Linked DNA regions of Homo sapiens: all the other regions are linked to region 4. The links are contacts of gene promoters, found by promoter capture Hi-C in blood cells and fetal thymus (Javierre and others, 2016). All regions are on one chromosome and are shown on one strand. The core of a region is centred on a gene start or on the middle of the fragment in contact, and the rest is flanking DNA. Distances in the headings are between cores, read along the strand shown.

The links. Contacts are between HindIII fragments. The CHiCAGO score rates a contact against its expected background, and 5 or more counts as called.
Region 1: a contact is called between a fragment that was not itself captured here and the fragment with the promoter of ADAM10 in region 4, in 5 of 17 cell types (fetal thymus, erythroblasts, naive CD4 T cells and 2 more). The highest score is 7.5, in fetal thymus.
Region 2: a fragment that was not itself captured here is called in contact with the fragment with the promoter of ADAM10 in region 4 in 4 of 17 cell types (megakaryocytes, M1 macrophages, M0 macrophages and 1 more); the score reaches 9.5 in megakaryocytes.
Region 3: a fragment that was not itself captured here is called in contact with the fragment with the promoter of ADAM10 in region 4 in 3 of 17 cell types (fetal thymus, total CD4 T cells and megakaryocytes); the score reaches 5.4 in fetal thymus.

The regions. Positions count from the first base shown.
Region 1 is chr15:58,925,654-58,931,980 of GRCh38, forward strand. All of the region lies in intron 2 of SLTM (SAFB like transcription modulator), which reads right to left. Among named protein-coding and RNA genes, the nearest start is that of SLTM, 4.9 kb to the right of the region's middle. RefSeq lists an enhancer at 1,729-2,228. The HindIII fragment of the contact is 2,423 bases long and covers 3,070-5,492 here.
Region 2 is chr15:58,525,035-58,531,679 of GRCh38, forward strand. All of the region lies in intron 1 of LIPC (lipase C, hepatic type), which reads left to right. Among named protein-coding and RNA genes, the nearest start is that of LIPC-AS1, 30 kb to the left of the region's middle. The HindIII fragment of the contact is 852 bases long and covers 1,005-1,856 here.
Region 3 is chr15:58,508,116-58,514,715 of GRCh38, forward strand. All of the region lies in intron 1 of LIPC (lipase C, hepatic type), which reads left to right. Among named protein-coding and RNA genes, the nearest start is that of LIPC-AS1, 13 kb to the left of the region's middle. The HindIII fragment of the contact is 5,465 bases long and covers 1-5,053 here.
Region 4 is chr15:58,748,117-58,754,849 of GRCh38, forward strand. ADAM10 (ADAM metallopeptidase domain 10) reads right to left here and starts at 1,591. Exons shown (of 16, transcript NM_001110.4): 1 at 1,364-1,591. The coding sequence starts at 1,418. RefSeq lists enhancers at 724-1,359, 811-940, 2,031-2,210 and silencers at 1,051-1,340, 1,671-1,960. The HindIII fragment of the contact is 2,079 bases long and covers 316-2,394 here.

The sequences.
Region 1 (6,327 bases), core at 3,031-5,530, 180 kb after region 4:
AAAATTACTACAAAGATAATTCACATTCATTATAATAAACCTAGAATATGCCAAAGGTATATTTTTCAAATATCTTACATTAATTATCTAAAGATGAACAGAATAAACAATTCCGGCACACTCCTTCAGGCAGGTGTGCCTACAAACACAAGACTGTCAAAGGTAATTTAACTGGGTTCTTAATGAATTACCTTTCTATTCTACCAGTAAAAAGAAAATAGTCCTGCTTAACTCTCAGCACCGTTGTGAGAATCAAATAAAGCAATGTAGAAGTTTTCCGAAAACTGAAAAGTATATAAAATAATCTAGAAACTGACCAGCAGAGAGATGAATAAAAATGATGCTAAATTTCAAGCTTTAGTTTAGATTAGTTAGTTCTTAACTTCAGGTGTATGTAAGAATCACCTGGGGAGCTTTTAGAAAATACATACTGATGCCTGGGCCCCCAACATAACAACCCAAACCAACTCTATGGGGAGTGAAAGCCTGCTATCTGTATTTTTTAAAATTCAAATGACTAACGCAGAGTGCAGATCATGAGCCACTAAGACAAGTGAATCTATTTACAGAAGCTGTTGAGAAGAATATAGACGGAAGGTTATTGTTTTTTGATTCTCCAGACTACAGAAATATTTAAGTTCTATCTACCTTCAACAAAACACCATGTATGGTGTGAATCTATTTTAGTTGTTGAAAAGGGGGGAAAAAACCTTTAAACATAAACCTCCTGTAAGTACTTGCACATACACCTACACAACTTAGATCAACATGTGTTGTAATATGAAATGTGCTTTATGTGGTTGATTACTATATTAGATTAACTTTTAGAAAGCTTTACAGAGTAAACATGTACTTAATTATAAACATGTATATATATCATATGTAAAATGCTACATATGATAAATTCAGGGTGGTGGGATTACGGGTAATCTTCACTTTTTTGTACTTTTCTGGATTACCTTTTTTTTTTTTTTTCTTTGAGTCAGGGTCTTGTTCTGTCACCCAGGCTGGAGTGCAGCAGCACCATTTCGGCTCACTGCAACCTCCTCCTCCCAAGTTCAAGTGATTCTCCTGCCTGAGCCTCCAGAGTAGCTGGGATTACAGAACATGCTACCACACCTGGCTAATTTTTGTATTTTTAGTAGAGAGGGGGTTTCACCATGTTGGCCAGGCTAGTCTCGAACTCCTGACCTTGTGATCCACCCACCTCGGCCTCCCAAAGTGCTGAGATTATAGGTGTGAGCCACCGCGCCTGGCCAAATGTATGTTTTAATGGCTGCGATAAAAGGGCTAATTTTGTGAAATGAAAATGACATATACAACCTCTGAGGTTGGACAGTATTCCAGCAAGGTTCAGAGGCTTTTCAACACAGCATCAATGTGGTAAAGAATAAAAGGATGATGCAATGATTCATGTGTTCTAAAAGTAAGTATATTTTACATATCAATGTGTAAGGAGAAGCCATTATGCTCTTGAGAGAGGCACCTTTAAAAAAAAGATAAAAACTATTAATCCCTGATATACCTGCTTCTTACAAAGAAATATGCAATTAAAATAGGCACCAAAAGAGATATTTCTTTTTTTTGTTTGTTTTCTGTTTTTTGAGACCAAGTTTCTAAAGATGAACAGATTATCTAAAGATGATGATCTTGTTGCCCAAGCTGGAGTGCAATGGCGCAATCTCAGCTCACTGCAACCTCTGCCTCCCAGGTTCAAGAGATTCTCCTGCCTCGGCCTCCCAAGTAGCGAGGATTACAGATGCGAAACACCATGCCCAGCTAATTTTTTGTATTTTTAGTAAAAACGGGGTTTCACCATGTTAGCCAGTCTGGTCTCAAACTCCTGACATCAGGTGATCCGCCCACCTCAGCTTCCCAAAGTACTGGGATTACAGGCGTGAGCCATGCGCCTGGCCCAAAAGAGGTATTTCTAAAAGCAGTTAAGAAAGCCCCAAAAAGGCCCTCAGTATTCATTCAACAAATATTTTTTGAGCACTTATTACGTGCCATGCTCTACACCAGGCATTACAGAGACAGAGGTAAATGAAAAACTATGTCCTGGCCTTCAGAGCTTTCAGCCTTTCAGGTACCTAAGAAATATCTATAACAATTATACGCCCAAAGTCCTCCTCAATGCCACAGTTCTGATTAAAGTGTTACTTAACATCTGAACATACTACAGCTGGAGGAAAAAAGCTAATTACAGTACACTATGATACTGTGTTATATGAAATGTGCTTTATATGGCTGATTACTACATTTAATTGATACCAGTTTTAGAAAGCTTTACAGAGTAAACATGTACTTAATTATAAATATGTAGTCTGTGGTATTTTCCACAAAAAATTATACATTAGATGTTTGGCCAAACCTATAACCTCAAAATATATTTGTTTCTATAGAAGAAAAATCAGATTGTACACATCATTTTTAGTCTTTTTAAAGCTGCCAGGTATTGCAAATTAGTTTTAATGTCGGTAAGTATTGCATTACATATAGTTCTAAATACTGTACTGATTAACCACATCACTTTTGCTGAAGTTAATTGGTGACTTTAAAGGTTGAAATTTTAAAAGAAAAGGATATGCCAGCATCAGGTAAACCAAAAGTCTTTAAATCTATAATCTCTAAAACAACCTAATGAGAAGTTAGCTCTACCTGTTTAACTACTTTTTAAACACACACCCAATTAATATAACCGTAAACTTCAATGGGTGAAGCTTTCTCCTAAGTTACTTATTTAAAAGTTCATAACAAAGAGAGTGTGAAGACTCAGGAAAGCCATTCTAAGATACAAACATCTACTCTATTAACTACATGTAAAGGAATTTTATAAATATGTTGATATAAATGTCAGAGCCCACTATAACATTATCAACATTGTTTGTGCTTGTAATAGCTGCATTTAAAAAATATTCTAGGAGAAACTTAAAAATGTAGGTTCCTTTCCCTCTAACCTCTCTAAATAGAATCATTTTAACATACATTTTTAAAAGAAAGTTACCCTATAGTTATTTTATAAAAGAATAAGCTCAATGTTTCACCAAAGTATTTTTTCCATACCTATGAAGCTTCTCGTCATTTAACTTTTATTCACTACCTTAATATTGTCATAAGAATCATTTCTTTTCCTGACCAGCTATTATATATTATGTCTCGCTGATGTCTACATAATTACCTCTACGTAATCCCCTTCTTGGCACTTTTCGTTTTCTAATAATTTGTGCTGAAGAAAAACGATACTGATTTCCTATGAGCTTACCTGTTGCTTCCTTAAACATCATTTTAGTTAAACAGAAAGCATTTTCTTCTCATTTTTGTCTATATAATTATTAAATTTCAGAACTAAAAGAGCCTTACAGGGGACCTAGTAAAATTTCCAGTTTTACAAAAGAGAAAACAGGCGCACTGAAGGAAAAGTGGCATAACCAAGATGAAATTATTTTCAATGTAGATACCAGTAAGTAAAACAAGATCTGGCAAAAAGAATTGAATGTAGTAATTCAGCAACTTGATTGAAAAACTGATTATCAGCCAGGTGCGGTGGCTCACTTTGGGAGGCCGAGGCGGGAGGATTACCTGAGGTTGGGAGTTCAAGACAAGCCTGACCAACTGGAGAAACCCGTCTCTACTAAAAATACAAAATTAGTTTGGAGTGGTGGCGCATGCCTGTAATCTCAGCTACTCGGGAGGCTGAGGCAGGAGAATCGCTTGAAACCGGGAGGCGGAGGTTGCAGTGAGCCGAGATCACACCATTGCACTCTAGCCTGGGTGACAAGAGCGAAACTCCATCTCAAAAAAAAGAAAAGAAAAGAAAAACGGACATCACATTAAAACAATATTTAATATATCCTTGGTTTTCAAATCTGTTCATTATTGATATTTTAATAAGTTTCCCTATACAAATTTGGTTTCTAAAAGTTATTATTTAAACATCTTAATTCTTTTTTAAAATAGAGATAGGGTCTCACTATGTTGCTCAGGCTGGTCTTGAACTACTGGACTCAAGCGATCCTCCCACCTTGGCCTTTTGGGATTATAGGCATGAGCCACTGCACCCGGCCTAAAATAATCTTATCACTTTGTAAAATGGCAGAGAAAACATCTCTGCCATTTTAGAACTCTGCCATTTTAGAAGGCTAGAACTGAGTTGGTATGACGCATTTAAGCAAAACTGGCTCTAAAGATGATCAGTAGCGCTTGGAATTTGAGACAAGAGCATTCTTTAATAAGTAAACTGGGTTCAAAATCTCTCATATTAAAAATAATAAAAATAAAATAATTGAATCAATAAGCATCTTTATTGTAAATTAATTCAAACTGTTTGGAGTTGGAGATTTACATTATATTCTTTGTAATTCACAAGATTTTCATAACAATGATAGCCGGATTTCAAGAAGACTAGAGCTTTTTGTCATGCATCTCTTAGAATGAGGCCTGCTACAAACAAATGATTGAATGTTACAACTTCTTTTTTTTTTGAGATGGGGTCTCATGCTGGACTGCAGTGGAGTGACCTTAGCTCACTGCAACCTCCACCTCCTGGGTTCAAGCGATTCTCCTGTCTCAGCCTCCCCAGCCTCCCGAGTAGCTGGGACTACAGGCACGCGCGCCACCATGCCCAGCTATTTTTTTTTTTTTTTTTTTTGTATTTTTAGTAGAGATGGGGTTTGGCCATGTTGGCCAGGCTGCTCTCGAATTCCCGACCGCAGGTGATCCACCCGCCTCAGCCTCTCAAACTGCTGGGATTACAGGCGTGAGCCACTGCACCCGGCCCCCAAATGTTACAACTTCTAACTGAATACCTTAAGACCTCTTAACATCAGAGTTATGGAATAAAGTTCAAGTATAACCCATACAAAGAAAAAAATTAGCAAACATACTGATAAAAATAAATAATGTTTACTTATTTAAAATGTTGTGGTGGCACATGCCTGTAGTCCCAGCTACCAGGGAGGCTAAGGTGGGAGGGATCACTTAAGCCCAGGAGTTTGAGGCTGCAAAGAGCTAGGCACCACTGCACTCTAGCCTGGGCAACAGAGCAATACCCTATTAAAAAATATATATATATATCATATATGATATATATACACCTATATATAATCTATATATCATATATATAGATATATATACCTGTCATAAAATGTATTGAAAAAACCCTTAAAATTTTATATTGCTGAAATTATTTCTAATAATAAGAGATAAATGATGTTCCTAGTCAAAACTGAAAAAGGGATATACAGAGAAATTAAAAGTAGGTGAGAAAGGAATAAATCATGTTTATTTTCAATGCTAAAATAATAGTCAACTCAAACAACCTGGGACTATGATTAATACACAGTACCTGTCAAACTAGCACAGCATGCTAGGTAAAAGATATGAATCAAAACTACTGCAAGACACATGGTTAATTCCTGATATACTTATTTCTGAATTTCTATCGTTTTCCATTTTGAAATAGCCTCTGGTTTGTTGGCAGTCTTCTCATGACAAGCTTCTTTAAATACAGAAAATGTATCTCTCAAAGTGATACACTGAGTCAGAGTTATCTTAAAAGCTACCTTTAAGATAACTTTTTTACTTCTCTAAACTACATCCCCACCTCTCCCAGGGAATGCTTATTAGCCCTTTTCAATTTCCTTTGGCACAAACAGGGGACTCTCCTAACCTAGGAAGACTTAAAATAGTGAGTTGTCCTCATCTCTGATACCCAGGTGTGCTTAAGATCAAAATTTAATATTCCCTTTTCAATATTAATCCATTCATTTTATTTTAGTTGCAATCATTCAGTGGTTGGGAGTAACACTTGGATCACTTAAAGCAGTAAAGAAAATTAGATTACAAAAAATGCAGCAGCTGTTCATGACAAACTCTGCATGAAAATTGTAGGTAAAGACCAGAATCCAGATATATCATGTCCACCCTCTGCCACTGTCCTTATAGGAGGGAGAAATTTGCAGTTATTCAAATAAAGGTTTCATTTACCAAGAAGCTTTAAAAAATACCTAAGTTCCATTCATACTGCAAAACGTTCATTTAAAACCACTTTTAGCTAGTCACTAAATCATTATATCCTAGAAATAAATATATTTTGCTCTAGCTTAAAAGTTAAAAATAAGAATCTTTAACATCCCTATAATTTAAAACTTTTTTAAGCTAATTAATCATGGATTTTTCCCTCTACCTTGTTAGTATGATTGGTGAGGTCTTTTTGAATTTCACTAAAAATTAGGAGGTATAATGGCATAAATGCAAATTAAGTTCACCAAGTCAAACAAAGTACTAAACATAAAGGTTATAGAATTTTAATATACTAAAGAAAACAGC
Region 2 (6,645 bases), core at 181-2,680, 220 kb before region 4:
TCATTTTATGATTCCTGTTATTTCATTTAAAAATTGGATCCATTTGGAGTTTTTCCTGATGTATGATGAGAGGTATGGACCAAACTTATAACTTTTCATCTTTTTCCAGATCTCCCAATACTATTTTTTAAAGTCCATCTTTACCCCAGCACTTTGAGAAATTAGATTTCCACTGCCCAGAACAACCTGGCCAATTTGAGAAGTCACTTCTATCAAATACTGAATGCAAACATATGCATTTGAGTGTTCTGGGTTTCTATTCTGCTTCTTTATCCAAGCTCCTGTATACACAGCTTGAATTACTGAATCTTTACGGTACGTGTTAGTATGAAATAGGACAAATCTTCCCCCATAGTCCTTTTTAGTTCAGAGCTCCCCTGGCCATTTACTGGCAAGCTGAGCTCTGTCACTGGGGCTCTCCTTGCTCACTGTCATGTTTTATTCTCTTCTCTCCTACAAGGAGGCCAATATATGCCTGCAGGCATCCAACCAGGGAAAGAGGCAAGCACAGCCCACTCCCCAAACAAGGCAGAGGCAGGGGTGCAAGGCCTTCTGGGAGAGTCCCAGTAGGCCATGTCTATGTACCCCTTTGAGGCCGGTGTTCTGGGGAAAGGCCAAATAGGAGACCTATGTCTTCCTGGAGGTTTGGACTTTGCCCTGAAGATTCTCAGCACTGATCTTCTGGTCCATCCAATCTGTTTAAATGAGGGTGATCCCAGATAACCTCAACATAAAGAGTTATCCTGTCTGATATTCTGTCTCCTCATGATCTGTTACTGATCAGGTGCAGAAGAACCCTTCAAGGAGGAAGATGTTACAATAGCAATATCAATGCCTACTTCTACTACCACCAATGCCACCAGGGCCACCTTTATTCATTGAGAACCTGCTATATACCAGGCATTGTGGGAGGTACTTTACACGTTTATCTCATTCACTTACAACCCCATGAGGAAACCATCTGTAAACGTGCCCAGAATTGTGGCTCATTAGCGGCAGAGCCAAGCTTTGGATCCCAGCCTGGTTCCAAAACTCATACTCTTCACCACTGGGCAACTTCTTCTCAGAATGATCTGCCACCCTGGGATGATGCAAATTCCCAGGCCTCCCAGACCTACTGAATCAGCTGCTCTGGGAATGGCACCCAGGAGTCTGCATCTCCAGCACATGAATACATGAGAACCACTGCTCACAAATGTAAAAAGTTAGGTAATATATCAGGGAGGCTGTGAGGATGAGTGTTTCCTTAGCAGTGGTGTAAGGGCAGAACCCTGGCTGGAGTGTTTTGCAGTCAGACTGATTTCCTCATTAGCAGAGAGTGTTAACCGGTAGCCTAGTTTGGCTCCTCGAGGTGCCTGATTCAGACAGAGCATCCCACAGCTGGAGCACCCTAGCTGGTGGAGGTAGGGACTCAGCCAAGTAGGCTCCAGAGCTGCCACCTAAGCCCAGTAGATTTCTCTTGCCCAGAACAACCTGGCCAAATGGAAGATGGGAGGCTGAAATCCTCACTCCAAGGAGGGGCCTCCTTTTCTTGGCACAAAGGCACCGCGCCAAGCTACACAGCTAAGGCAGTGTGCTACCTAAAGCAGGTGCACAGAATTCACAGAGAGGTACCAAATAGGCTGGCAAAGACCTTGGTGGATAAGTACCCACAAATATCTGGAAGGAACTATGTTGGGTTGAGACATGAGAAGGAAGAGATCTTAGGCAAGTTTGGAAAGGGAAACAACACATTGAATGCCAACCCCTGGACTAGATATTTCATCAACTTCGTTCATCCTCACTACCACCCACACAAGACGGTCTTCCTATTTCCAACTTAGAAGAAGGAAGTTGAGGCTCCTACTGGTTAAGCAAGCTTCCCAAGGCCATACAGCTAATAAGTGTTAAACAATCAAACACAGAACTGACTGGCTCCAAAGCCAGTGCCCGCCCCACTGGCCACTCCACTACCCTGCCTCTGCCATTGCTCCCTATGGCAACCTGGAAACTGTCGGGTACCTGCCCGTGGTCTGAAGTGGGCAGGCAGCAGTCAGCTGGGCCTCCAGATATGGGTGGTGAAGGGAGGATACAGGTCCAAAAGAATATCTTAGGGGAAATAGTGCACATGCCCAGAAAACTTTTATAGTCTCAGAACTTAGATGTGCGGAGAAATCGAATTCTGGTCCTGGTTTGCTTTTTTAGCCAGTTGTGGGCCTTGGCAGTCACTGAACCCCTCCTTATTTCTTCATGAGGAAATTAACATGCCTAGGATAGGAACCGCTGTGCTGCAGACCCCAGGGTCAGGCAAGTCTCAAAGAAGATGAGAGTCACCAAGCGCCTCAGGAAAGCTGAAGGGCACAGGGTGCATGCTGCAGCCATGACCTCAACCTCTGTGAGTCTAGAGGTGACCATATTGGCCACACATAAGCTCACCTTCCCCCTACATTTCATAATCCTTCCCTCCCATCAGGGCCAGCCTTTGATTAAAATTCCCAAGATTATCTGAGGAGCTGGCGGTACCACCCACCAATGGAGTTCATCTGGCTGCCTTTACACCAGCCACCTTATGGCTGGGTGGGCACTTTCCTATTCTTCGGCCAACACAACACTTTCCAAACTGTGTGACAGTTGTTTATTTACTTGCCTCTACCATAAGACCATGAGCTTTTTGAAAGCATGGTCTGTCTTATTCACTGTTAGGTATCACAGTGTATTCACAATCCCTGACACATAGTAGGTGCTTAATAAATGTGTGGTTGAATGAATAAATGAATTAATGAATGAATGAATGAATGAATGGGATCAGGGTGGGCCTTCAGTCTCTAAAAGCATACCCAAGAGCCAGCCCTCTCAGCCGCAGGTCCGCACATGGGGAAGCCCTAGGGAGGTTCAAGGACTAGATCAGGCCCATTTTCTCATCAGGCAGCCCCCAAACCTCTGCCCCAAAGAGCACATCCAACATGCTTTCAGCCCACACTCCCCACCCACGGTTTACTGCCTGTAATCCCAGCTACTCGGGAGGCCGAGGCAGGAGAATCGCTTGAACTCGAGAGGCAGAGGTTGCAGTGAGCCGAGACCACCCCATTGCACTCCAGCCTGAGTGACAAGAGCAAAACTCTGTCTCAAAAAAAAAAAAAAAAGAATAACCTTGGGCTGTTTGGCCAAGTTAATGCTTAATGCTTTCCTCATGCTGCAAGCGTTTATCTTTGCCCAGATTCCAGCTCCAGGGAGGGGAACATTCCTGCAGAACAGCCAGGCGTTCCCAGGTCACCTCTGCTCTCACTCTCACTTTTCTTTTTGCATGATTAAATCCGGCCTAAAAACACGTCTCAGGGGCACATATCTGTCACTCATAATAATCCTATAAGGTAGGTACTACTGTTAGTCTTATTATATAGTTGAGACACAGAGAGGTTAAATAACTAGCCCAAGGTCACACAGTTAATAAGTAGCAGAGCTGGGATTTAAGCCAGGCAATCTGGCTCCAGAGCTCGGTGCCTTTTTTTTTCTTTGACAGGGTTTGGCTCTGTCACCTGAGCTGGAGTGCAGTGGCACAATCACTGCTCACTGCAGTCTCGACCTCGCTCAGGTGATCCTCCCACCTCAACCTCCCAAGTAGCTGGGACTACAGGCACGCACCACCATACCCAGCTAGAGCCCAAGCTCCTAACCGCTTCTGCTGTGCAGTAACAAGCCACGCTCAGGGCATGGGCCCAACTTGAGTTTCTTCCATCCACGGGTCCAGACTGGAAAGGAAGCAGCAATCTTCTCTTCTTTTCTCACTGAGTATAAGGCACCCAATTCATCTTCTGGCAGCTGACCTGGAGGACGGAGTGGCCCTGATTTTCCTTTTACAGGTACAATCACTGCCAATACTAAAGCAGTGCCTGTCCCTACCTGCCAGGGCACCCAGGATCCTTGTCTCCAGCAGTAACTTCATGAGGTAGGTGGCTCTGGGCTGAGACAGGACTTGCATATTCCTAGATCCCTTGACTGTGATGTCGAAGGTCCTCTGCCCCCACCCCTCCTTCTATTCCTTGTAAGCTTCACTTGGCAATTGTGTAGTTTATGTCTGGTACAGGAATGAAGGATAAGGTCAAATGAAGCTCAAAGCCAGGAGCTAGATAGTCATGATATATCAAATAAAGTTTTGGAACAAGAACACAATGGGATTAATTTGCCAATCAAAACAGCGCTTGGCAACTTGACTGTAAGCCAAGATCTCTCATGGCAAGAGCAGCTGAAGGGCCTGTGATTGTCCAGCTCCTGGGGAGCCTCCCTGGCCTAACCGTGGTCAGATGCCAGCATCACAGCCCCCTTAGCTGGGTAAGGATTCTCCTAGTGCTACCTCTGGGAGAGAAAGAAAAAAATCTAGTCTGAGAATGACACCAGCAGACAGCAGCTCTGCCAGGTGTTTGAAGGGTGAAGGTCATGGGACTCTGTTTTTACTACCCTGGTCACCCCAATTGTTTCGGGGTATTTTCCATAGACAAGAGGATGCCCCAGTCAGCTGTCTTCCGTGATTCAAGACCCAGTCTACTGTCTTCTGTGATTCAAGACCTGTTTCCTCTTGTGCCGATCAGAGGCCTTATTTGGAGGCATCGGCCTTTATGTGGCATGGAATGTAAGCCCTCTGAGCTTTAACAGAGATAGGAAGAGTCCTAGAACATGGCAGGGAAGAGGGTCGGAACCTCTGTCCTCCAGCACAGTAGAAGGATGCTGGCTTGAATGTCAGGAGAGCCCAGAGTTTCTACCTGGATGCATGGTTTGGGGCATGTCAGGTGGCCTTTCTGGGTCCCAGTTTCTTCAACTGTGACATAAGGAAGGTAGACTAGATCATCACTACCAATAAAAGGTCCCTGGTCCTTGGGGAGCAGTGGTTGGAGTGGGAGAAGGGCATCGCCCAGCTATTTTCCAACACATCGTAAAAGATATCGCACAGGACAACTGAATGTTGACTTGGTTTGCTTACCTGTGGAATTCTATCCACTTGGTGTGGTAAAACGGATTCTCGCCAGAGAACTGGAAGTGTAGATGGGTGGTGTTACCTATATCCTTGATTGATAAGAGAAGGAAAATGAATTTTTCCTCAATAAGTACAGGTTGTTTGAAATGCAGGCTGGGTGCAGCGACGCTGCATGGTCTCCAGGCGCCTTGTGTTTCTAACCCTCTTGCTGGACAACTTGGCCTCCACAGGGTAGTCCCCAGGGAACCCTTGGCCATCTCCGGCCTGAAGGAATCAGGGAAGACCTTCCGGACATGCCAAGTCTCCCTGAGACCCTGCTCCATGAGGGCTGGCTCCCTCCCCGACCTGGTCTTTTGGTTCAAAGTCAGTCCTGGAGTTATGTCTGCCAATTGACCCCAACCTCCAGAAAACTCAGAAACAGCCTGTCCTCTCAGGCCTGCAAACCAGGAGCAGCCAGGCCCAGCCCTGACTTATGCAAGTAACTACCACAGAAGGCCTGCTGTGCAGCCTATGCCGCTCAACCTGGATCAAGGGCAATGTGGAGAAACCACATTATTGCTTGACTATAGTGCAGTATTCCAACAATCATTTTAAATGTGCACTTGTGTAACCATGATCACCATCAAGATGTAGGATATTTCCATCTCTCTTTAGAGATTCCCTTTTGCCCTTTGCTAGTTAATCCCCACCCCATTCCCTGGACCCAGGAAATCACTGATCTGCTCTCAATCACAATAGCTTTGCTTTTCCAGAACGTCCTGTAAATGGAATCACACAGTTTGTACCCTTTTAAATCTAGCTTCTTTCACTTAGCTTTATGCATTTTAGATGTATCCATGTTCTGGCATGTGTCAGCAATTGTTCCTTTTTCCTGCTGAGTAGTATTCCATTGGATGGATATGCGACAATTTGTTTATCCATTTACCAGTTGATAGATATTTGGGTTGTTTCAGATTTGGGGTTATTATGAATAAAGCTGCCATGAACATTTGAATATTTATGTGGACATATGTTTCCATTTCTCTTGAGTAAACGCTTGAAGTTTACTGGGTCCTATAGTAAGTGTACATTTGCCTTTAAAGAACTTGTCAAACGGTTTTCCAAAGAAAGTATTTTTTGTTCTCACCAGCAATCTATGAGGAGTTCTACCCGGTTTTGTCAGTCTTTTTAATTTTAGCCATTCTAAAGGGAGAGAAGTGATATTCCGTTGTGTTTTAAATTTGCATTTCTCCCATGACTAATGATGTTAAGCACATTTTCTTGTACACATGTGCCCTTTGTGTATCTTCTTTTAAGGATATCTGTTCAGTTCTCTCACCCTACCTTGAACCTACACAGGGTGGAATGTGCCTATGACCTCGGAAGGACTTTAGGGAAGCAAGCCCCACTTTCCCCAGAGAGGATTCCAGTACAAACGGAAAGCTCTTCTGAATGGCATACTCTTTCATAACCAGATTTCTTAAAAGAAAAAAATCATTCTGATTCTAGCCTGAAGTGCAGTAGAATTCAAGAGAATTTAAGAGAAAAGTTTAGAAGGAAAAAATTTTTGGCAAGAAAAAAGACTCTACTTACTTTTTTCCCTGGGATCCACAAAAGAAGAAGTTGTGGCCTCAGGCTACAGTAGTATGGAGCCAAAATGGACTCAAAAAAAAAAAAAAAAAACCCCAGAATAAATCAGACATGAAAATAACTTTCCT
Region 3 (6,600 bases), core at 1,071-3,570, 240 kb before region 4:
AGACTAGAGGTAATTGCTTTCTTCCTTGGTATTTCCAGACTTTAGGCAGATAAGGGATGAAGAGAACAACTTCATCCAGAGCTTTGGGAGAGATGAAGAATTGAGAGATGGGGTAGGGCCAAGGGTGGGGGGTAGGGAGTGAAGATCAGAGAGACCCTGAGGCTCTTCTTATTTCAGCATGTCAAAGCACCATATTTTGGGGTAACAGTTGCTGAGCCCCAACAACTGCCACCCCATAGTCAAATTAAGCCGATCATCCCCAAAGCAATATTAGTCCAGTCCAGTTCCTCTCATGACAAATGACCTGAACACAGGATTCAGCGAGTCTTACTCGCTGTGGTCATTTTGGAGGTAGGGAGATCATTAACCCACATACTTTGATAAAATACGAAACGCCTTTCCTAGCTGGTTCTTTTCCTCTCCTATAGGCCGACCCCCCTCCATCCCTTTATTAGTATTGAACTGAACAAATTAGTTAATATGGGAACATTTGGATGTATCAACTTTGCTCTGAAACAAAAATGTATTCATCCCCAAACTCTATGCTGGGGGCTGAGGGAGAGTCCTTACGACTGACATAGTCCCCAACAAGGTTCTCATTAGTCCCAGTTTTTTTTTGGACACCTTTTCCTCCGCATTCACATCCTTCTGCCCTCTCCAGCACTGTGCAGGAAGAACCAACCAACCTGACCTTGGTGAAAGGGCTGTGGGTTTTTCAACCCTTCATTCCTGCTACTTTTTTTTTTTAATTTTTTAGTATTCTTCTGTGCATCCTTTCTTCTCTCCTAGGCTTCTCACCCAGCCTCTCTGTTGAGTACTACTTGTAGGCAGAGCTCCCTCATTCACAACATCCCAATGTATTTGTCCTGTATCAAAGCAAACCTTATACAGTAGCTCTTTTAAGAACTGCTAAAGGAATGAAGGAACAAAACTGAGCCAAATAAAGCAAAATGAAGAGGATATGTATGCAGGCAATTGTGGGAACATATCACCAGAATCCTCTCTTGTTATTGTACCCAAATCCACACATTCTCCTCAGTGTTGTCTGGGAAATACATCAATCCACTGTGAATGGTTTAGATAGAATAGAATCCATCAATGTCACCAGCTTGATTCCTCCTCAGATGATGAGCCACTTTCTCCACTCCACCTCCAGGGCTGGCCCCAGTCTTCCTAAATGTTCATTAACTCCTATTAGGTATTCCGAAACTCTCAGGTTTTCTGAGTCAGCATAGAATGGTTGGAAAAGCAATTGCTGTAGAATCAAGAAGACTGAAATTGGAATACTGGAGCAACTACCTACTAGCCACAGGCAGGTTACTCTCTCTGAGTCTCAGGTTCCCCATTTGCAAAATGAAGCAAAGCTATCTACTCCAAGGATTGCTGTGAAGATTAAAAGACCACGTGCTAACCTAATAGGTGTTCAGTAAATAAATATAATTTTCTATTTTTCCCTGCAAAATTCATTTCCCAAACACAATCTTTATTCTTTTTTTTAACATATAATAGCCATACTATGGCTTACCAACTCCCCAGTAAGCCAGGACTCTCTGTATACGCAGTGTTTTGCCACATCATTTACATGGATGAAATTGTTTCCTATACTCCCAAATTTACCCTGCTTGGTGACCAAGAATCACTTCTGTCCCTATTACTAGTGATATCATGTCTGCATTTAGAAACAGACAAGTGTTATACAAAATTACATAATATGATAGGAATGCTGTCAATGGATATCTATTATTATATTTACCAGTCAAAATTTTAGTTGTTATAACTGGTATCACCAATTAAAAAATTTTATAAGAAAGGGGTTTTTGTACCATTGGATCTATTGAATCATTAAAAAAAAAAAGAGTTTAGAAAAAGAAGAAGCTATTTATATACTATTTCATTCCATAAGACTTTATCCAGTTCCACTGTTAATAAAATGTACATGCGCAGAATTGTATTGTTTTCTCCATTACTAAACATGTATTTGCTGAGTACCTTCTGAATGCCAACATGGTGCTAGGTACTGGGCATAGGGTGGAAGACACAATAGACAAGGACACAGCTCCCTGGTATGGGAAACAGATACTTTATGTCTTCAGTTGTAAGGTCCACTGTTGTTCCTATTTAATATCTTTGAATGTGGAATATATCTTACAATGCTGTGGGCTAGGGCATGGTTGTGACATTGATAAAAAGGGCTCTTAACTGCCATCGCTTCAGTTGACTTGCTTGCCTTTTTGAGTGGCAGTGCATGGCTTGAGCTTAATTTCCATTCAGAAGGTTTTTGAAAAGACTAACTCATTATTTGCACATAAAAAGGCACAGAGACAGAGGTGAGGCATAAATTTGATATTCATCATTAGAGTAACCATCATCCTATGTTTTCTTACAAAGTAACAAAAAGTGTTTTATGAAATGTAATCACAATATATGAAGCTGTGCTTTACTGGTGCACATGCAAGAGGATTGCCCATCAGGCTCTAAGCAAAGCAACTAAGAGTAGGAGAAACTGCCAAACCCTAAAGTAGGGGAAAGAAATCTCCAAACAACAAGAGGCACTGTGACCAATTCACATAAGACTATCACTAAGACATCAGGTTTTAACTTGTAACTTGCTTTTTTCCTTGTTAGTGGTATGTTAAACAATGGTATATCATGCTATTTGTGTATACTGGATTCAATGAAATACTATAATAAACAAGTAAGCAAAACATAAGATCATAACACGTCCTGAAAGGACCTCTCAGCAAGAGTGACACATTGCCAAGTAATGCACATTGTTCCACATGGAGTTGGTGAGGATAACAGCACTTCCTTCCAGAAATACTTTAGTATACAAAGTGCTGTCACGTGATGACGTCTCATTTCAGCATCTCAACAACCGCACCTGGAAGGCCTTATTATTTTGTATATTTACGGATGAAGAGACTGGATCTCAAATAGCTTAAGAGACTTCCCTAACATAACTCAGCTAATGCCTGGAAGACCCAAAACTAGAATCCAGGGCTCCTGACTCTACATCCTATGTTTTTCTTCTCGGCTACATGAAATGGTACAAAATACGAATTAAATGATTATCCATGGTCTTGTGTAATTCTGGCATGTTTCCAGCTAAGACTTCTCAGCTGTTCATTCAACTCAAAGGCATCCTTCAGTCCTCTTCCCCATTCTTCTCTGTCTCGGGGATCTGCCTGGGGAGGGAGTGTGGTGAAAGCAGAGTAACTGAATCCTCACTAACCCCAAGGCCCTAACGCAAGGAGATGCAGGCAATAAATCATTCCATTGCATTTACCATTGCATTGCATTTACCATTGCATTGCATTTACCCATACGTGGGGCTCTCCAGGGATGGCATCAGATGCTGCAGGAACATGAATGATAAATACCACATCCCAAGGGTTAGGGCCCAGGCAAGTTCTCAGGGGAGAGCTATACATATGACTGGTAAAACCCACTATGTCCAGAAGACAAGGGCACCCTGCTGGTTTGCATGAGCAAAGCTAAATTGGCGCTGACAACTGGCAATAGGTATTGAGAGTCTTTTTAAAAGTTGATGTCACTTAATCTAGTAATCCCATTTCCAGGAATTCATTCAAAGAGAATTAATCTGGGATATAGAGAAAGGTCTATGAATAAGATTGCATCACAGTGTGGTTTACATTTGGAAAAAACTGTGGTTGTAACTTAAGTTACAACAGTAGAGGGTTGTTCAAATATTATAATTCTGGTACAACCACACGTTAGGATTCTCTCTTGCCAATTATTGATGTCGTGGGGGAGTGTTCAAGACAAAACATTGAGTTATAAAATCAGGATTCTAAATTATATATATACACACACATACACACAATTAAACTCAAACATACACATGGAGACACACACAGCATTTTAAAACCTAGAAGGAAATCACAACCATAATACAATAGTTATCTCTGATTATGGGAATACAGGTAATTTTGGTGATTTTCTCTATGTTTTCTTTTTTTTCTTTTTCTTTTTTTTTTTTGAGACGGAGTCTCAATCTGTTGCCCCAGGCTGGAGTGCAATGGCATGATCTCAGCTCACTGCAACCTCCTTCTCCCAGGTTCAAGCGATTCTCCTGCCTCAGCCTCCCCAGTAGCTGAGACTACAGGCATGAGCCACCAAGCCTGACTAATTTTTGTATTTTTAGTAGAGATGGGGTTTTACCATGTTTGCCAGGCTGGTCTCGAACTCCTGACGTCAGGTCATCCACCTGCCTCGGCCTACCAAAGTGTTGTTGGGATTACAGGCATGAGCCACTGCACCTGGCTGTTTTTCTCTAAGTTTTCTACAATGTTTTATTTTGCTTTTTAAGACAGAAAGTCCACGCAAATCAGTCAGGAATAGATGTGAAAAATGGGGATGGGGCCTTTGAACCAGGAGCAATATGAGAAGGTGAGAAGGATGGCCTGGGCCGGCTGGGTCTGCGAGACTACCTGGAAAAGCCACGGGAATCACAGCCCACAGGGTGACATCTCCAGATCCAGCAGTCTTTTAGGAAGGCAGATGGAGTCTCAGACCTGTCCCACCCATCTTAAAGTGGCCTGGTCACAGGGTCAGAGCTTCAGCAGACAGAGGCGCCCTGGGATAAGTTGCCAAATATGGGTTGAGCAACAGTGGCACTGGAACGAGGTAGGAGGCGGGGAAAGGGGATGGAAGGTAAAATCCTGCCCCTGTCCTCAAGGTACTTACAGTCAATGTGAGGAAGGCTGACAGCCATAAAATGATGACCTATGACAACGAGGGTCGTTCCACACACATCCTCCAGACCCCGGCACAAGACCTCCGCCTTTCATCTCCATTATATTGGGCAAAACACAAAGCATCAACGAAAAAAAAAAAAAAGTAAAAGTACATAGAAAAGGAGACACAGAGGAATACAGAAAAGCAAAAACCTCCTTCAAACTGGTGGATGTTTCATCCCAAAGGACGCTCGACCTTTCTCAGGCATCCTGCCACTGAAGAAGTCAATTACTCACGGCCCACAGTCCCTAGGTTCCGCTCAGCACAGTCTGGAATCAAGGGTTCATTTAATGGAAGCTTAACAGATTCAGATTTCTCTAATATTCCACATCCCCTTCTGCCAAGAAGCTGCTTTGAAAGATGACACTCCCTTGATGTGAATTTGCAGCCTGCCCCATTAACAAGGCTTCAGTCAGAAAACATTTTTAAATCAACCCTGTTCCAGACACTTGCTCCCAAGGACAAACTAGAAGAAACTCTGCACCAGCTCAAACCTTCCAAGCACTTTGATGATCAGAAATGAAGGGAAATATTAGAACAAATCTTATTAATCCAAATATTCTCAACAATCTTCAAAGCAAACCGTTGCTCTGGGCTGCAGAAAGCAGAGCTCATGCAGAGCCGGCCCTTTCTGTCCTAACTCCTGTTAGCCAAGCCAGCCCCCTAAAAACAGACCTCAGAACAGCAGAGGGAAATATTCAGAATCAAAGGTGATGGGAGGAAAAAGGAAGAGGAAACAGGTAAATGAAAGAAGGAGGATGAGGATTGGAAAGCTGACTACTTAAACTTTTAGCACGTCCCTCAAATAAAAGGATAAGGTGTTGTATGCCACACTGCCTCAAAGCAACTCCCTCAGTTCACAGTTGTGCAGCTGAGAATTCTGGAGAAACCCCACGGCAGCTGGCATCTATGTCCTGGCTCCACTCACAAGGGGCTGAGAACCCCAGGACTCCTCACCATGCACATTTCTCTTGGGTGTGGTGGGAGGAGCATTTCCGTTTCCAAACCTCGGGGCCATTTGCTCTTAGATACACAAACATCTCCCCAGCCTTTGCCAAGTTCACCCAGCCAGAAGGCCATAATGCAGAATTAGTAGCATTTCAATCATTTCCGTGACGAGCTGGTGACAGGCTGGAATATGATGAGTGAAGCAATCAGATGTTGTTACAGGAAAGAGGCATGAGAAGAGAATGACAACAGAGTGGTACAGTAATAAGCATCATCGTAAAAGCCCCCACTGGCATCAAGTTTATCATCGCCAGCATAACTAAAGGAGCCAGAACACCTGTTTGTAATGGGGATTCCAGCTCCTCCACTTTCTAGCTGTGTGGCTGAGCACGCTTCTCGCCCTTTCTAAGTCTTGGCTGAGCATCTGTGGAAGGTGGATAGCAATCGCTACTTCATAAGATTGTTTAGTGATTAAAGTCAAACAATGTCTATAAGGCATTTGCAAAGCATTAGCAGTACCAGTAGTACCAGTAGTAGTAGAAGTAGTAGTAGTATTTGGTATTATAAGGAGTATTTTATATTATTTCAAATAGGATTATGCACTATTTCATTATACCCTTATCTCATATAGAAGACATTTTTAATGCTATTTGATTGAAAGTAGACCAGAGACTCAGAAAGGTTAAACCTCTTTCCTAGTAAGTATAAAAAGTTAATGCAGGCCAGGTGCAGTGGCTCACGTCTGGAATCCCAACACTTTGGGAGGCCAAGGCGGGAGGATCACCTGAGGTCAGGAGTTTGAGACCAGCCTGGCAAACATGGCAAAACCCCATCTCCAGTAAAAATACAAAAATTAGCCAGGCATGGTGGTGCACACCTGTAATCCCAGCTACT
Region 4 (6,733 bases), core at 341-2,840:
TTGCTTGATGAATTGGATTGAAAAAAATTAAATAAAACGTGTAACAAAAAAATGAACACTACAAACTATAACAGAAGTCTGCCTACGCAGTACCACCCTCGGACTCGGTAGAATACAGGACAGAAATACACTTGGTCCTGCAGTCATAAGTCAAAGTGGCAAAGAAAAAAACAGAAACAATACATTACATGAAATAGATATTTTCTAAATTATCAAAGGCTACAGACACTCATCCAAAGCATTCCTCAAATTTTTTCAATCGTTGCTTTTAGGCACACCTTGAGGTTTTTAAGTTTACTCTGGGGCAAGTCAAAAAGCTTACCTAAAATAAAGCACTTTAAGCAAGAATAAAATGATGCAGCTGGTCCTAGAACACACCGGAAATAAAAATCGTTGTCTTCAAAACCCGAAACAAGAAATGACATGCTTTTAGCAAATTTGACTTTCATGTGCAGGGGGGAGGGGGCACTGTTTTGACAATCCACTAACTACACTGTACATCTACTCCACCTGAAAGTTTAACGAAACTCTTCAAGTTGGGTCACCCAGGGACCGAACTTCTACTCTAAGAGACCCAATCCAGCCTACAAATCAAAGAACATCCCCAAATGGTTTACCCTTCTCCCGACCAAACCCTTTCCCCTGGGCGACAGAATGTTTTCAAGAACACCAACACACCCTCCTGTGATCTCTCTCCAAACACAGGACACAGGAAGAACCGAGGCCACTAGTCTCAGATAAGCGGGTGATGACTGCTGCCACTCCACGGGCGGCCCCTCTGCAGAATGGGGTCGGTCAGGACCGGCGCGCCGGGTAAAGAACAATACACGAGCCCAGCTGCAAACAACACAACTTCCCACGAGTCTGCGCGGCGGGTCTCGGCGGCGGAGAGGACTTCGGAATCCGCCACCGGGCAGGGGCTGGGGGAGGAATGGTGAGCAGGATGAGCGCTGAACGAGGACGGCGAGACCGCCAGCCTCGCTGCGGCTGCCTGCACCGGCGCCCGCCGAGCAGACTGGAGGGATGCAGCCACCAGCCTGGGTTCCACCGCTCTCACCAGGCGACGCGGATGCCCCGACTTCGCTTCTCTGGGAGGCGACCCCCGCCTCCCGGGGCCGCCAGGGCGGTGGGGGGCGGGGAAGGCCTCGCCGGAGGCTTGGGAGCCTCCTCGGCCCGCCACCGAAGGGAAAGCGGTCGGGGCGCGGGGGACAATAGGGAGCGGGGAGCGCGGCCCGCCAGAGTGGCGCCGCTGGCCGGCTGGGCTGACTGACGCGCACGCCGCGAGGCGCGACTGGGCTCCGCTCGGCCCGGCCGCCGCTCCGCCGTGGTCGCGGCGCCCCCGGCGCTCGCAGTCGTGCCTCACCTCCCATCCCCGCCGCCCAGGAGAGGAGCAGAATTAACACTCTCAGCAACACCATCTTCCGCTGCCGCTGCCGCCGCCGCCGCCTCCTCACGGGTTAACAGCAGCACATCGATCCGGAGGGAGAAGCTGAAGGGGCTTGGTCCGGAGCCTCCACGGGAAGCCGGGACCTCCCCTGGCAGGAGAAACGGCGAAGCACCTCCCTCTCGCTCCACTTCAGGGGCCGGCAACGCTCCTAGCTCCTCCAAAACAGGGACCTCCCTCCCCCTCGTTCGTTTCCTTCCTCCTTTCCCCGCTTTCCTTCCCTTGCTCGTTCCCTCTTCTCTCCCCCCCTCCTTCGAAACTCAGACCTCCGCCTCCTTCCTCACCACGTGACGCGCGGGCACCCAACTGGCACGCGGAGCCGCGCCCCTACCTCCCGCCCCTACCCGTCCCCCAGGCGCTTCAGGGGCGCGCGCATGCGCGCGGGGGACGGTTCCCGTGCTGCTAGGCCTGCCGCCGCTTCCTGTCCGCCGGCGGAGAGCTGGGATTGGGCTTGGGAGGCGGGGTTTGTCCTGGTCCCGCCCCGGGGCGGGAGCGCTCCTACGCGGAGATAGTGCTCCGCTACGTGTTAGAGCTGCTGAGGACCTTCCCTTGGGCTAAAATGGTCCGTGGAAGATGTAAGCAGGGCTGCTTTCGACTTCTTAACGTCACAAGTAACAGAGGTTTTTTTTCTTCTTTTTCTGCCTCTCTTGGTGCACCACAGCTACCAAGTAAACAAAAAGTCCCAACAAGCAGTAATTATAGCGGCAGCTGCCCCAGTGATGCGAACATAAATGCAAAGACCTTCAAGCAGCAGGAAAAAAAGACACCATGTCCGAGATGTAATTTTCCGAGCTCTTTACAAATTTATGTCACAGACTAAGGCTTTAGCCTTTGCAAAAGCATGCAACCTGAACCAGACTGTCTTGAATCTCCAGTCCAGAAAATGTCCTCTTTTCTCTCTGTCACATCTTTGAAGCGAATCCACGCACATCTTCTCCCCAACTTCTTAAAGCTTGTGTTTGTTTTCTCGTAACTCATTTTGATTCTTTAAACTTGGATGTCATGAACTAGAACTTTTTATGGCCATTTAATTAGATATTCTTCATCTATTTGGTATCGTGCTTGAGTAGGCCGAATTAGGGAGAGTGTGTGTGTGCGTGTGTGTGTGTGTGTATGTGTAAATTGTTTTGTTTTGCTTTCTAAAGACAAGGTCTCCGCTGTCTCGCCAGGCTGAAGTGCAGTGGTGTGATCATAGCTCACTGTAACCTCCAACTCAAGCCGAATTAGGGAGAGTGTGTGTGTGTGTGTGTGTGTGTAAATTGTTTTGTTTTGCTTTCTAAAGACAAGGTATCCGCTGTCTCGCCAGGCTGAAGTGCAGTGGTGTGATCATAGCTCACTGTAACCTCCAACTCAAGCGATCCTCCCGCCTCGGCCTCCCACAAGTGCTGGGATTACAGGCGTGAGCCACTGCGCTCGGCCTTAATGTTATTGATACTGTAATAAACTGGAATTCCTATACTGTTACCTGTATATTTTATACCATTTATTACCATTAACATAAGTGAAGAGAATTTTTTTTTTTTTGAGACGGAGTTTCGCTCTCGTTGCCCAGGCTGGGGTGCAATGGTGTGATCTCGACTCACCGCAACCTCTGCCTCCCAGGTTCAAGCGATTCTCCTGCCTCAGCCTCCCAAGTTGCTGAGATTACAGGCATGCACCACCACGCCCAGCAAATTTTTTGTATTTTTAATAGAGACGGGGTCTCACCATGTTGGTTAGGCTGGTCTCGAACTCCCAACCTCAGGTGATCCGCCCGCCAGCCTCCCAAAGTGCTGGGATTACAGGTGGGAGCCACCGAGCCTGGCCATAAGAGTCTTCTTTAATTCTCAGTTTGAGAAATGAATGATTCTAGTTTTGCTGCAACATTAATAGGCTCAAAAACGGACGTTTCAAAACCATCATAATTGTATCCATTTATAATGAGATACATGGAATCATCAAAGGATGGCAGAATCTCACGAATGGTTTTTTTTTCCTTCATTAAAATATTCAGTCTTAGGAAATAGTTACCTGCAGACATTACATCTCATATCACCTGTGCTTTTTACTAATCTCTTGTGGTAGTGCTGTCAACAAATGATATTTTTATTTTCCAGCTCTTAAACCACCTTATAGCATGTTTTCTGTTGCACAGTATTTTTATAATGAATTCCAGTGATTAGAGGCAAATGGCACTTTCCCTTAAAATTCAACTGGAAAAAACTCCAAAGCCATATTTTGCATTACTAAGATGATTACTGAAAATTACATTTATAAAGACTGTATTTTTTTTTTTAATTTTTAAAATGTATTTATTTTGGCCAGCCACGGGGCTCACAGCTGTAATCCCAGCACTTTGGGAGGCCAAGGTCCGCAGATCACTTGAGGTCAGGAGTTTGAGACCAGCCTGGCCGACATGGTGAAACTCCGTCTCTGCTAAAAATACAAAAATTAGCCAGGCGTGATGGCGGGCGCCTGTAGTCCCAGCTACTCGGGAGGCTGAGGCAGGAGAATGGCGTGAACCCGGGACGCAGAGCTTGCAGTGAGCCGAGGTCGCGCCACTGCACTCCAGCCTGAGCGACAGAGCTAGGAAAAAAAAAAAAGCCGGGCGTGGTGGCCTGTGCCTGTAATCCCAGCTATTCTGGAGGCTGAAGCAAGTAATCCCAGCTACTCAGGAGGCTAAGGCAGGAGAATCACTTGAACCTAGGAGGCGGAGGTTGCAGTGAGTCGAGATGGCGCCACTGCACTCCAGCCTGGGAGACAGGGCAAGACTCTGTCTCAAAAAAATTAATTAATTAATTAATTAAAAATAAAAATCAAATAGCCAGTGCAGTGGTATGCACTTGTAGTCCCAGGTACTCGGGAGGCCGAGATGGGAGGACTGTTTGAACCCTGGAGGTTGAGGTTGCATTGAGCTGTGATCACACCACTGCACTCCAGCCTGAGTAACACAGACAGACCTTGTCTCAAAAAAAAAGAAAAACTGTATTTTTTTTATTTGTCAAGCACGAATGGCATTACATACCAGCATGCACGAATGGCATTACATACCAGCATGATAATGAATGGTATTCCAGTGTTACAAGTTTGGGCTACTATTTTAACTTAATTCATTATTGATATTTTGCAAATGTATGGAAAACTGATGAAATATTAAAGTATAAGGTCTGCATCTACACTATCACAGACTGCCTGGGTTTCACTCCTAGCTCTGCCATCTATAAACCGTGTGACTTTTGCCAAGTTTTTTTGCCTTCTAACCTCAATATTTCTTTTCTTTTCTTTTCTTTTTTTTTTTTTTAGACAGGAACTCACTTTGTCACCCAGGCTGGGGTGCAGTGGTGCAACCACAGCTCACTGTAGCCTCAGCCTCCAGGGCTGAGGTGATCCTTCCCCTCAGCCTCCCAGGTAGCTGGGACTGCAGATGGGGGGGCCCCACGCCGGGCTAATTTGTTGTATTTTTTGTAGAGATGGGGTTTCACCATGTTGCTCAGGCTGGTTTCAGACTCCTGGGCTCAAGTGATCTGCCCACCTTGGCCCCCTCAAAGTGCCAGGATTACAGGTGTGAGCCACTGCACCTGGCCTCAATATTTCTTTTGTAAAATGACAATGAAAAAATATTTGCCTCAGCAGATTGTTTTGATGATTACATTTAAATTAGTTAATATCTGTTATTAGTTACTTTTAACTAATTTAACTAATAATTTTAACTAATTATCTTCTAATATTAGTTAATAGACCTGGAATATAATAATTGCTATGTAACTATTAAGTAAAAAAAATGTAACTATTATGGTCACTGCATGAACACTCAAACATCCACTTGAAAGCCGTAATTATTTTAATAGCATTATTTCCTCAGGAACAATACAGTTTTGATATTACCAGTATAATAAAAGTTATCCTCAAGTTTTAGTAATGGGAAATTCAGCTTTTAAGCAAATGCTCATATATTATACAGTGTAATAGACAAGTAATACTAGAGGAGAATGCTTGTTGCACAGACCGAAGGCCAATGCTGGTAAACATTTCAACAATTACATTGTGAATTTCCAAATTCTACTAAACTGCCTGCTGGATGTCCCACTGTCATGCCAAACTCAATATATTTAACTTCTTATCTCTGATACTGGCACTACCACTATCCCAGAAACCTGGAATCATTTTAGCCTGGGCACTGCAGCTCACGCCTGAAATCCTAGCAATTTGGAAGGCCAAGGCTGGAGGATCACTCGAGCCCAGGAATTTGAGACTAGCCTCAACAACATAGTGAGATCCCATCTCTATTTAAAAAAAAAAGGGGGGGAATCATTTTAGATTATTCTTTTGTCACCAAGTCATATTGATTATTCCCTAAAAATGTCTTTGTGCCTTTAATGCTCCCCTTCTCACTGCTGTTGCTCTGATTGGCTAGCACTCTGAAACTATTCCAGTGTTACAAGTTTGGACCACTGCTTTACTTTAATTATAGTATTTTATCTAGCTTAGATTGCTGCAGAACACCTAACTTATATCCCTTACTCCAGTCTCTCTTCCTTTTGGTCCTGCTTTTAAACTGCTTGTTAATCCACCGCAATTTGTTCCCACCTAGCTTTGTAAGAAGCTACTCTTGCTAGGGCCATCAAAGACATCAAAGATGTGTTAGTGATCAATTCCACTAGACATCTTCACTCCTTATCTTACTGGACCTTTCAGACAACACTCTCTCCTCAAAACTCCCTCTTCTAACAGTTTCCAAACCTTCACTCACTCTGGACTTTCTTCTTTACTTTAATTGTACTTTCCTCTACATCTTTTTCCTGTGACTTTTTCTTCTCTTTACTGCACAATTAGTGATCTTCAAGATTTTACCCTTGGCTTTCTTATCTTCTCATTTTCACTTGCATGATATTTTACTACCCCCAAATGTATGCAACTCATTAGGCTATAAACTCCGTGAAAACAAAGCCTGGGTCTGTCTTGACAATGCCTATCACATTGTCAGCACATTTCCTGGAACAGTATTCCAATCACTTTTTCTTGGAACATTTCCTATGCCCCCAAACCCAAGACCCATATCCTAGTTGCACAACTTCCTAGCCACCTGACCTTAGGTAAGTTAAGGCACCTGTTGCACAGTTTCCTAATCTTTACAATGGGGAAAATAGTGGTATCTACTTCAGAGCGTTGCTATAGGAGTCAAATAATTTAACAGATGTAAAGCACTAAGAACAGTGCATAGCATACAATTACTATTATAAAATATTTTAGATGTTGTTATTATTACATATCCAACTCTTACTAGTCATCTCCTACCTGAAATTACACAGC